Linked DNA regions of Homo sapiens: regions 1 and 3 are each linked to region 2. Evidence: promoter capture Hi-C in 16 types of primary human blood cells and fetal thymus (Javierre and others, 2016). All regions are on one chromosome and are shown on one strand. The core of a region is centred on a gene start or on the middle of the fragment in contact, and the rest is flanking DNA. Distances in the headings are between cores, read along the strand shown. Region 1 overlaps SPATA31F3 (SPATA31 subfamily F member 3). Region 2 holds the start of PIGO (phosphatidylinositol glycan anchor biosynthesis class O). Region 3 has its middle 12 kb from the start of SPATA31F3.

Region 1 (4,073 bases), core at 606-3,105, 210 kb after region 2:
TCATACAATGTAAGCCCTGAGACATGTTGCAGCCTTTCCCACTAGATCCAGGACACTCTTTGATTGGGGAAGTCCATTTCAGTCCTCAAGAGGGAGGAAGCATTCTCCTAGACCATGCCCAGAGGCTGCTAGGATTCCACCTCCAGGAGCAATTGAAACAGAGGGTTGATTTGTCATTGCTGGGACCTGATCCAAAAGATCCAGCAGTCTATCCAGTTCATCCTGTGACCTGATGACCAATAATCCCTGCCCTGGAGCAGTACAGCCCTGACCTATGTGGGTCTTCCCAGCATGCAGCACCAGAAGCTAGTGGGAATAGTGGCCTTCTCTGATCCACTGTGGCAGGAGGGCCAGTCCGCAATTGTTTCCTCAGGCCAAGGTAATGTTGCAGAGCCACATAGATTACAAATATGGGAAGATCTGCTAGGGCATTGTCCCTGCCCATATCTGCCATTGTTGGGACTACAAATCACTGGTTCTGCAGTATTCCAAAGGCCTGGGAAGCAACTTGGCGCCCCTGTCCTCTGAAAAGCAAACACCTGGACCTGGAAGTGACACATATCAGCCCCTACACAGATCAGGAAAGGACACTCTGAATACTGACAGGCCTTGATCAGCAGCAACAGGGCTTGCCAGATGCTGTTACTGATGATCCTGAGCTGCCCAGACCCTGTCCCAGGAAGCCACTGAGAAACTTGAGACAAGTTTTGGCCCTTCTGTCAGGGCTGCCTGCTCTCTATTATGTGGCTCTTTCCAGGGCTGTGGCCCAGGCAATCACTCACGAATCCACAATCACAGATTGAGCCCATCAGAGCCTCTGACTCAATCTCATCTGAACAGCAATGTGTAAGTCCTGGGCCATGCTTTCAAAACACCAATGAAGCTTGTGTAGATAACGTACAAGTGTTCTGCACTAAAACACAAGCTGATGGAGATGGTACCGCTAGAGAGGCAGACAGATCCTCACAGCCCCTAATCACTCAAGGCACCCATCTTGGCCAAACTAAATTTCTACCTGAAAAATAAATTCCTTGAGATACATTTGGGAAGTCCCATAAAAACAAGGGAATCCAGGGAACAAATTTTCACCATCCCAAAGAATATCTCCACACAGGGATCCTTTAGGAGTCTAAAGATTGCTAAACCAAGGGAAAACATTACTCCAGAAACTTCATATCCCACCAGGCATCCCATGGGCCCCAGATCCAGAAGGGGTTGGACTGAAAGAACAGCTTGCCGTTGAACTAAAGACAGTGCAGCAGAGCTACAAGTGATCTAGTTCCATAGCAGTACCCCATGCCCACTGGGATTCTGGGATCTCACACCCAGTGGAGACATGACAGAGGCCCAGGTACTTTGTGTTCAGCTGGAGGCTAGAGTGAACAACCCAGCCTGGAGGGCCCTAAGCCCCTTAGACCAGGTCTTTGCAAAAGTGAGGACAAGTCCCTACCCCAGCAGAGAAAACAGTTGACCCAGTGACATTTGATGACATTCAAAGCAGCTGGAAATCACAGAGAAGGGGGTGTCTGGACAGCACTGGAGCTCTCCCCAGCCAGAGAGAACACCCTTTCTGCCAAGGTTCAGGGGCGAGTAGGGGCACTTCTAAGCAGAACTCCAGAGCTCACAACTTGCCAAATATATCTCCAGGATCTTTCTTAGGTAAAACTTTAGTTTAGCTAAGATGGTTGCCTTGAGCAGAGACTAGCAAGGATCTGTCTGGATCTGCGGAGCCCCATTTCCATCCTCTCAGTACTGGCTATTGCTGTTTCACCAGCTTCTCCATAACCTTGAGTTCCAAGAGCATCCTCCAGGATTACTTGGGGCAAAAGGACCAGATAAGAATAATTTGCAAAGCTGTTAGAGTAAGCCGAATAACCTCATCCAAACAAGGATTTCTGAGAATGCCAAACCGGGAGTGCCCAGAGCTTAAAGGGCCAACTTACTGGGCCATTACTTGCTGGGCCAAAATTTTGCAAGTACAGTATTTGAAGGGGTAAATTTTTTTCAGATCCAAAGTTTTCAGGGTCAAATAGTTCAGGGCCATGTTTTACAGGGCAAAATTTGCAGGGTCAAAATTTGCAGGGCCACACTTTCTAGGGCTAAGAGTTGCAGGGTCTGGTAAGGGCAGTCCATACTCACAAGAGCATCATCCTTCCAGAAGCTCCAGAAGTTGGCTTGGATAACAAGATGAAGCTGTTTCTGCACTGGATTAACCCTGAAATGAAAGATCGAAGGCATGAGGAATCCATTCTCCTTTCTAAGGCTGAGACAGTGACCCAAGACAGGACAAAAAACATTGAGAAGAGTCCAACTGTCACCAAAGATCATGTGTGGGGAGCTACAACACAGAAGACAACAGAGGACCCTGAGGCTCAGCCTCCTTCTACTGAGGAGGAAGGCCTGATCTTCTGTGATGCCCCCAGTGCCTAAATAATCTGCTCTAGCAACACTCCCTTCAGTCCAGCCAATCCTGGGTCCTGTGCCACTCCTACAAATGCTCCAAACTCTGTCCTCAAATGACTTGTGCCACTCAACCAGGAAATCTATCCCAGGTCTAACTCACCTCAGCAGAAGGCACTGTTTTATGCAAGAATACCCATCACAAGAAAAAGGAGTTCATAGGTTCCTGAACCTCTGCAATCCCCTGAAAAAGGCTTTCATTGCCATTTCCATTAACATGCAGGTGAAGCAGGGCATTCTCCAAATATACTTTGTACCTTTAAGCAAAGAGCCACCTGTTTGTGCCTCCTCATTTTCAATGTGGTATATGATAGACAGAGAGAGTAAAGGACCTAAAAAGTACTTCTTATGTGGTATAGAAGCTTAAATCACATTTTATTTCAGATGGGTCAGCATTCCACATGACTCCTCCCAGCCCCACCCTAGAATGTGGATAAAGGGACTTGACAGAGAAGAAAGGCCCTTGTTTTAGGTGCATTGAAAGAAAAGGTCAGGCTTGAATTCTATTGTCCCATGGTGTGTTGGGCTCAGAGGAGGAATGTGGACATGGCGACAGTATAAGAAGCAGTGGCCAGGAATCTAATGCATTTTTGGCCCACAGGCAAAATTCATTGATGACTTCTATACAGTATATGCTGACAACCTGGAGGGAAGGTCCTTTAGAGTGCCATGGTGCTCCTTCCTTTAGGAATGTTTATCAAAAGCACACAGCTAATATGACAGATGTCAAAACCAGATGATAGAATCTCCCTGTCTTTTCTCTGTTGTTACTGAGATCTTTAAGGGTAACCCAACTGAGAGCCCACTCTAGTCCTGTTGCCTGTTCCAACCTCCATTGCCTTTCATTTGCATGGAAAGAATGCTGCCTAGAATGAAGACTAGTTGATGAAGAGATCCCTAAAAGGGTCACAATAAAAACAACTTTGGGCTGAGTCTTGCATTCAACAATTCAAATATTCAAGTACTTGCTATGTGGCAGGCACTATGCCAGGCACTACAGAGATAACAGTGAACGATACACAGGCCTTGTCTGAAAAAGCTCATGAACTCTGGGATAGACAGTCATATAAAAAGTCATTAGAAGCAATAAGATGAAAGTACATAGGAGGGCACTTAATCTAGTTTTGGGGAATGTTCACGGAAAGTTTCCTAGAAGAGATGATATGTAAGTTGAGTTCTAAAGGATGAGCAGGCATTAGTTGGGAAGGAGGTAGGGAGTAGAGAGGCTTTCCCAGGCTGAGAGTACAACATGAACAGAGGCATGGCATCAAACAACAGCATGCCGTGTCAGAGAATAGTGACTCACTGGAGAAACCCCTGTATAATAATTAAAAAAAAAACACAGTAAAATGTTTAAGGGATCAGAATGAGGTTGCCAAGCTGGAGAATGAATGGCATTCTTTCACCCATTCTTCATTCCTTCAATAAATATTGAGCACCTATTATATGCCAGGCACTTTTATAGGCACTGGGAATACAGCAGTGAACATAAGAGGAAAAAAAAATCTGCTCTCTCAAGGAACTTACGTTGGGAGCATGCCTGGGAGGAAGAGAAAAGAAGTATAAATAAAAAACATAGTATATAGAAGGTGACCAGATATATGCAAAAAAAT
Region 2 (4,143 bases), core at 1,644-4,143:
AAATACCTGAAACCCAGTGGTCCCTGCTTTCACAGAATACAAGGTCAGGTAGGGAAAACAGACAGGAAGCAGACAGTGATAGAAAGTGATAAATGTGGCCGGGCGTGGTGGCTCAACACCCGTAATCCCAGCACTTTGGGAGGCTGAGGTGTGCAGATCATGAGGTCAGGAGATTGAGACCATCCTGGCCAATATGGTGAAACCCCGTCTACTAAAAATACAAAAACTAGCTGGGCGTGGTAGCATGTGCGGGTAGTCCCAGTTGCTTGGGAGGCTGAGGCAGGAGAATTGCATGAACCTGGGAGGTGGAGGCTGCAGTGAGCCGTGATCACGCCATTGCACTCCAGCCTGGCAACAGTGAGACACTCTGTTAAAAAAAAAAAAAAAAGTGATAAATGCTGTGGTAGAGGAAAGTTCTGGCTGAGGGATCTTGGTGGGAAGAGCATATCAGCTTATGAGTAGCAGCGTTGCTGATTGCCACTGAACTCAGGCTGGAAAAGTTAGCAAGTTTTCACCAAGTCAGGTCCTGGACTAGAATAAACAAAGGCTCACTGCTTGAGAGAAGTTGGCTGAAGGGTATAGTGTTAAGGGGGATGTGACTACATGGCAAGGGCCAAGTCACAAGGAATGAGATTCTTGTTGAAGGGGTTGGACATTATCCCTAGGGTAATAGGGTTTTTTTGTTTGTTTGTTTGAGACAGCGTCTCCCTCTGTTGTCCAGGCTGGAGTGCAATGGCATGATCTCGGCTCACTGCAACCTCCGCCTCCCGGGTTCAAGCAATTCTCCTGCCTCAGCCTCCTTAGTAGCTGGGATTACAGGCATGCGCCACCATACCTGGCTAATTTTTTTGTTTTTTGTAGAGACAGGGTTTCACCATGTTGGTCAGGCTGATCTCGAACTCCAGACCTCGTGATCTGCCCGCCTGAGCCTCCCAAAGTGCTGGGATTACAGGCGTGAGCCACTGTGCCCGGCCTATGAAGGGTTTTTTTCCCTTCCCATGAAGAATTTTAAGATAAAACATCACATTGGCCAGGCACAGTGACTCATACCTGTGATCCCAGCACTTTGGGAGGCTGAGGTGGGAGGATCACTTGAGCCCAGGAGTTGACCAGCCTGGGCAACATGGTAAGACCCTATCTCTACAAAAAAGAAAAAAATAACAGTAATCACATTAATGTTTTAGTTAGAGCTGTCTTGCTGCAATGTGGAGAAGGGATAGTAGGGAGACACAGGAGGCTGGGAGGACAGTGAGAAGGCTGCCTCAGTGATCCTGGAGAAGGGATGAGGTCTGAACTGAGATAAGGGGCTATGGGGATGAAGGTGGAAGAATAACTCAACTTTTTTTAAAAATTAACATATTCCTTTATTCGTTTGGTCAGTATGTGAACCTCAAATATATGCTAGGTGCTGAGGATATCATGAAGAAAACAGAATTCCCTGACCTCAATGAGCTCACATTCTACTCGGAGGGGATAAACCATAAATACGTGTAGAATTTCAGATGCTGATGAGTTGTGCTATGGAAGAAATTAAGGAAGTGAGGGGAAATTTTTCCAGGGGGTGTGGTGGTGGGAGGTGCTGAACTAGTAAAGTAGGGGATTGCAGGAAGCCTTGCTGATGTTACAGTTGAGCTTCAATATGAAGGTGATGGAGATCCATTTCGGCATCGGGAACTGAAGCTGACAGAGGAGATGGCAAATGCAAAGGTCCTGAGGCAGAACTGCTGTGGATGGAACAGAGTTAGGGAAGCAAAGAAGTGGCAGCTAGATGAATCAGAAGGGGAAGAGGCAGATAGTGTGCAGGGCCATGTAGAGCCAATGCAAGAACTTTTACTCTGAGATGAGAAACCAGTGGACGGGTTTTGTTTCTTTTTGAGACAGAGTCTTGCTCTGTTGCCTAGGCTGGAGTGCAGTAGCACGATCTCAGCTCACTGTAGCCTCTGCCTCCTGGCTTCAAGCAATTGTCCAGTCTCAGCCTCCTCAGTAGCTGGGACTACAGGTACACATCGCCACGCCTGGCTAAATTTTGTAATTTTTAGTAGAGTTGGGGTTTCAGCATGTTGGCCAGGCTGGTCTCCAATTCCTGACTTCAACTGATTCTCCAGCCTCAGCCTCCCAAAGTGCTGGGCTTACAGGTGTGAGTCATCGTGCCTGGCATTTTTTTTTTTTTTTTTGAGAGGGAGTCTTGCTCTGTTGCCCAGGCTGGAGTGCAGTGGTGCAATCTCGGCTCACTGCAACCTCTGCCTCCTGGGTTCGAGTGATTCTCCTGCCTCAGCCTCCCAGGTATCTGGGATCACAGGCGCCCGCCACCACTCCCGGGTAACTTTTGTATTTTCAGTAGAGACGGCGTTTCGTCATATTGGCCGGGCTGGTCTTGAACTCCTGACCTTAGGTGATCCACCTGCCTTGACCTCCCAAAGTGCTGGGATTACAGGTGTGAACCACTGGGCCCAGCCTCCCCTCCTCCACTCCGAAGGATTATTTGCTTAATTATTCAGTCGTAAGATTTAGTTACAGGCTTTGAAAGGAGGAGTAATGAAATCTCAGTTGGACTCAGCTAAGCAAAAAAGGGAAAATAAGTATTATCTCCATTTTACAGATGAGGTAATGCCTAATGATGACAATATGTGCGGCCAAGCTAGGATTCAAGTCAAGTTTGACTCCAGCAGCCGTGCTCTTAGTCGTAACCATGAATGGACAGTGGTTCCCTGAACTCTTCCTCCAGCTTGGTCCCCTGTCCCCAATTTTCAATTACTAAATATCCCATCAAACTGGGGCCAGCCCCACGCTCCTGGCCAAACTTCCACCGAGGTGCCGGCAGATGGCGATGGAGCCACCGACGGGCCACTCTGTCTGGCGCACGCATCTCTGTGCTGCCAGGTCGCAGGCGCCGCCGCCGCCGCACTTCCGGGTGCCATTGCAGGTGAGCCAGGGTCTCCCGAGAACCTCACCCCCCGGTATTCCCCTCACCCTGAAGTAAGGGAGTCTCCCTCTTCCCCTCAGCTCCTAACCAAGGTGCTCAGTACCGCGGCTAGGGTGCCCAGCGGGAGGCTGGGTAGTTACCGGAGGAGGCAGAGCCGGTCGCACGCCTGGGTCCCAGCGGAGGCCCAGTCGACTCTCGACCCGGGCCCCAGCCTCCTTGCGTGGCGAAGGTCGTGCCTCAGGTCTCCTGGCGAACCTGGCCGCCCGGAAGCGGAGAGTGACTCCTCCCCTTCGTCCCCTCGGTGCCCGCCAGGCGGCGCCGTCGGCTGGGCCCGGATTCCCCTGCGGCTTCGATCCCTTTCCACTGGGTATTGAGATTGGCGAGGGGAGAGGCGCAGAAACGGCGTGTAAGAGAGCCTGACTACCAATTGGAATAAGTTTCCCTCCTGACTGTTCACATGTACAGGCAGCATTAGCATTTCCTGCCTGTACATGTGAACGTTCCTATGCTCTACCCCTCGAAGATCCTGATTCAGTAGATCTGGGGTGGGACCTCATGAAACGGCGTCTCCCTCTGTTGTCCAGACTCTAGTGCAGTGGTTCAATCTCGGCTCACTGCAACCTCCGCCTCCCCGATTCAAGCGATTCTCCTGCGTCAGCCTCCCCAGTAGCTGAGACTACAGGTGCCCGCCACCCATTTTTGTATTTTTAGTAGGGACGGGGTTTCGCCATTTTGGCCAGGCTGGTCTCGAACTCCTCACCTCAGGTGATCCGCCCGCCTCGGCCTCCCAAAGTGCTGGGATTACAGGCGTGAGCCACCATGCCCAGCCTGGAAATAGGAGGAGAGTAATATTGCGAGGGGTTGGCTGTGAAATGGTTTATCTCCAGGAAGGTTTCCGGGAGGAAGTGATTCTAGCTGGGCTTGTATTCAGGGACCAGAATATCCACTGGTTCTTTGCCCCACAGTAATGAATTTACTTCCCCACCCCTATCAGGATGCAGAAAGCCTCAGTGTTGCTCTTCCTGGCCTGGGTCTGCTTCCTCTTCTACGCTGGCATTGCCCTCTTCACCAGTGGCTTCCTGCTCACCCGTTTGGAGCTCACCAACCATAGCAGCTGCCAAGAGCCCCCAGGCCCTGGGTCCCTGCCATGGGGGAGCCAAGGGAAACCTGGGGCCTGCTGGATGGCTTCCCGATTTTCGCGGGTTGTGTTGGTGCTGATA
Region 3 (4,056 bases), core at 866-3,365, 190 kb after region 2:
CCCTGGTAAAATTGTGACAGACAGAGAAGCATACAAGATAATGTGATAGTGAGAAACCATACAGGAATTGAGCATTTGGCCTAGATGAGGCTCAGTTTGGGATGAGGCAGAACACGTGAAATGTCAATGGTCCATAGGATGGTGCTTGTCCAGAGCTTGGCCAAAGGCCAGGCTGCCACTGATGACAGGCTAGCTAAACCTCCCAAGTTGGGCAGACAAAACTAAACAAATTAGTCCCCAAAGACACAAAGATAAGATAAGGGAAGAGCCAGGTATAGCGGTGTGCTCTTGCAATCCCAGCTGTTTAGGAAGCTTGAGCCTGAGAGTTCGAGGCCAGCCTAGTCAACATAGTGAGACCCCATCTCTTAAAAAAGAGAAAAAGGGGGCCGGGCATGGTGGCTCACCTGTAATCCCAGCGCTTTGGGAGGCTGAGGCAGGTGGACCACAAGGTCAGGAGTTTGAGACCAGCCTGACCAACATGGTGAAACCCCATCTCTACTAAAAATACAAAAAATTAGCCGGGCATGGTGGCAGGCACCCTGTAATCCCAGCTACTTGGGAGGCTGAGGCAGGAGAATTGCTTGAACCTGGGAGGTGGAGGTTGGAGTGAGCCAAGATCGCACCACTGCACTCCAGCCCAGGCGACGACGTGAGACTCTGTCTCAAAAAAAGAAAAAAAAAAAAAAAGAAAAGAAAAGAAAAGAAAAAAAGGATGAGGTAAGATAAAATAAGATTGAGAAAGAAGTCCTTATAAGGATTTGAAGTGGTGACCCGAGACAAAGTCTGTCCAAAGGACACCATACTATGGAGGCTTTCTGAAGTCCTCAACCCCTTGTGTACTGGCTTGAGGGACTGTCTTATTGGATCTTTACCTGTCTTCTCCCTATAGATGTTTCCTGTTCCCTTTTCCCAGAGACATGCATGAGTTGCTCCCTTATCTCCTACTGGTCTTTGCTCCAATATCATCTTCTCAGACCTCCCCTTGCCACCTATTAAAAATGACAAATCTTGTTTATACTCTTGACTTAGTCTCTTCTTTATTTTTCTCCACTGCACTTATCACCATCTAACATACTACATATTTTCCTATTTGTTTGCTTTCTCTCTCCTTCCACTAGAATGAAAGCTCCCAGAGGGATTTTTTTTTCTGTTTCCGTCTTGACTATAACAATGCCTTTCACATAAACAAATGTACCCAATTTAAATTTGAGGGATCAATGAATTGTCTATGGCAGTGGCAGTGAAGACAAAAGCCTTAAATGGAGCCTAAAATATCCTTACAACAAGAAGTGCCCCTTCCTCAATTACAAAACATTTGTTTCTGGGGTATGGTATTAGTTCCATAAGCTAGAAGAGAAAACTTACAGCAGGTGAAAACTACTGTGAAGAGGCCGGGTGTGGCAGCTCACGCCTATAATCCCAGCACTTTGGGAGGCCGAGGCGGGCAGATCACGAGGTCGGGAGTTCGAGACCAGCCTGACCAACATGATGAAGCCCCATCTCTACTAAAAATACAAAAATTAGCCAGGTGTGGTGGCGGGCACCTGTAATCCCAGCTACTCGGGAGGCTGAGGCAGGAGAATTGCTTGAACCTGGGAGGTGGAGGTTGCAGTGAGCCGAGATCATGCCACTGCACTTCAGCCTGGGTGACAGAGCAAGACTCCATCTTGGGGGAAACAAAACAAAACAAAGCAACAAAACAAAAAACAAAAAACAAAACCCCAAAACTACAGCGAAGAAAGAAATCAAACTGGAAGGATAAGAAAAAGGGGAAAAAAAACTAAACAAAGACAATCCAAAAAGAGGATTAAATTGGATGAAAGACTGGACCAATGAAAAGAGATAGAGTGCAATGGATGAAAGAAAAGATGGCATTTTGAAGCACTAGCCTTTTACCGATAAATGTTGTATTACAGGAAAGGAGTATCTGTGATCTACGGGACAATCAATTATCAATTATGTAAAATACTAACTATATGAAACCACACTTCGTCTTCAGAGCAGAGGTTCCCCTTCTAGGTGGCAAAGGGGAAATGTCCCTTCACCTTTAGAAGGGTCTATGAAAATCAACCGACAAAAAGCAGATTAATAGGTGAAAAGGCATACAAGTTTATTAATGTGCATGAGGGAGGGGATGATTAATAGAGTAATTATTACTGAATAACCCAGTGTGGTACAGAAATTTACATATCCTTTTTCATGGACAGTAGGAAATAAGGAATGTCAACAATTCCTTTGAGGGGCAGTAAGTCATTAGGGAGAATGAATGGACCCAGGAGTTGGGAGGCCTACGTTAAGGGAAAGTGAGAGGTAGAGCTACACGGGAACAAAGGTTGTCCTACACAGATAAAGTTCCCTGGGTGATCTCTTGGGGCTACCATCAGCAGAACAGATGAAAAATCTGGATCAGCAAAGTGGCTCACAACTGTAGTCCTAGCCCTTTGGGAGGCCAAGGAGGGAGGATCCCTTGAGGCCAGGAGTTTGGGACCAGCCTGGGCAATATAGTAGACAACCTGTCTCTATGAAAATAAAATAAAAATTAGAGGGGTGGGGTGGTGCTCACCTACAGTGAGCTATAATCACACCACTGCACTCTAGCCTGGACAACAGAGCAAGAGTCTTCTCTTTAAAAATAGTGTGTCTGGGTGTGGTGATGACACCCAATTTCTTCTCTTCTCCAGTGGTTGATCTTTCCTGGTTATTTGAATCCCTATGGAGGGGATTTCAGACAACTGCATTGCATTTCTTTTGGAAACAAAGTTACTTGTTTAGATAAGGAAATTCCAAGAGAGTCCCTCCCTGCACTTTGAGTGGGGGGAATAAAAGAGTTAGGGGTTAGGGTTAGGGATCTTGATTCTGAGGCAGCTTTTTTTTTTTTTTTTTTTTGAGATGGAGTCTCATTCCATTGCCCAGGCTAGAGTGCAGTGGCGTGATCTCGGCTCACTGCAAACTCTGCCTCCTGGGTTCAAGCGATTCACCTGCATTCTGAGGCAGCTTTTAAGGCCTCACCATGTCAAAGCATCAGGAAGGAAGCACCATGTCAAAGCACAATGAAACTTAAGATTCCTTTCTGCTGACTCCAAATTTTTAGACAAAACTTTACACCTTTAACCACTTGTAAATTAAAGAATCTCTCAATCCATGTATAACGTGTAAGATCTGCTTCAAGACATCCTGCCTTTCTGGGCTGAACCAATGTATACCCTTCATGTACTGATTTATGACCTTGCCTGTAACTTCTGCCTCCCTAAAATGTATAAAACCAAATTGTAATCCAACTGAGGCAGGCACACTTTCTCAGGACCTCTTGAGACTATGTTACCCAGGCCATGGTCACTCATATTGGCTCAGAATAAACCTCTTTAAAATATTTTCAGAGTCTATTTTTTTCCACTAACAGCCCCAACACCCTCAACAACTTCTCACTTCCTTTCCCCCCTCCCTGTTTCTCCCCTCTAATCCTTCCTGTCTTTCCTTCTCAACCCTCAGGACTGCATGTGCACACACCCACAAAGACCAAAAAATCTGTGTAGAGAAATGCACCCACACAGACGTTTATACCTAGAAACACATATGGTCAGGTTCTGAAGACCCATCTCCACAGTTCATGTCCACGTGACACAGAAAAACATTCCCATGAGGAGATATCCACAACCCCAGTTTCCACACGAAGACAAAATAAAATCTAAAACTCAGTTAATTAAGATCAAATATATACAAAATAAAATGCACTCAGAGTAAAATAAATATTTCAGGAATCCTTCTGTTATTTCTGCATGTTATCATTACACAGAGACACCAGCAGTTTATGCATGTTGATTCCTGCATTTTGGATCACTCCCTCTTCCAACTCCACATATTAAAATCCTCTCTCAGCTTCAAGCACCAGCTTGAATGCCATCTTCTACATGAAGCTTTCCCAGATCACTTCAGCCAAAAATAATCTCCCCTTTACAGGAGATTTATATAGCAACTTTATATAATATTTATAAGGAGATTATATACCACATACTCTCAGATACCGTATTATTGTATAGATACCTATTATTTCCCACT

What was found. Contacts are between HindIII fragments. The CHiCAGO score rates a contact against its expected background, and 5 or more counts as called.
Region 1: a contact is called between a fragment that was not itself captured here and the fragment with the promoter of PIGO in region 2, in 11 of 17 cell types (M1 macrophages, naive B cells, total B cells and 8 more). The highest score is 8.9, in M1 macrophages.
Region 3: a fragment that was not itself captured here is called in contact with the fragment with the promoter of PIGO in region 2 in 12 of 17 cell types (naive B cells, naive CD4 T cells, total B cells and 9 more); the score reaches 12.0 in naive B cells.

The regions. Positions count from the first base shown.
Region 1 is chr9:34,887,721-34,891,793 of GRCh38, reverse strand. SPATA31F3 (SPATA31 subfamily F member 3) reads left to right here. Exons shown (of 5, transcript NM_001309427.2): 5 at 2,162-2,728. The coding sequence ends at 2,430. It also overlaps a transcript of PHF24 not described here. Among named protein-coding and RNA genes, the nearest start is that of SPATA31F3, 6.0 kb to the left of the region's middle. The HindIII fragment of the contact is 1,939 bases long and covers 886-2,824 here.
Region 2 is chr9:35,095,341-35,099,483 of GRCh38, reverse strand. It overlaps PIGO (phosphatidylinositol glycan anchor biosynthesis class O), which reads left to right and starts at 2,893. Exons shown (of 11, transcript NM_032634.4): 1 at 2,893-3,329; 2 at 3,918-4,143. The coding sequence starts at 3,919. PIGO-AS1 (PIGO antisense RNA 1) reads right to left here and starts at 3,180. Exons shown (of 2, transcript NR_186491.1): 1 at 3,064-3,180; 2 at 1,340-1,724. RefSeq lists an enhancer at 2,887-3,226. The HindIII fragment of the contact is 7,045 bases long and covers 1-4,143 here.
Region 3 is chr9:34,905,474-34,909,529 of GRCh38, reverse strand. It overlaps a transcript of PHF24 not described here. Among named protein-coding and RNA genes, the nearest start is that of SPATA31F3, 12 kb to the right of the region's middle. The HindIII fragment of the contact is 3,602 bases long and covers 315-3,916 here.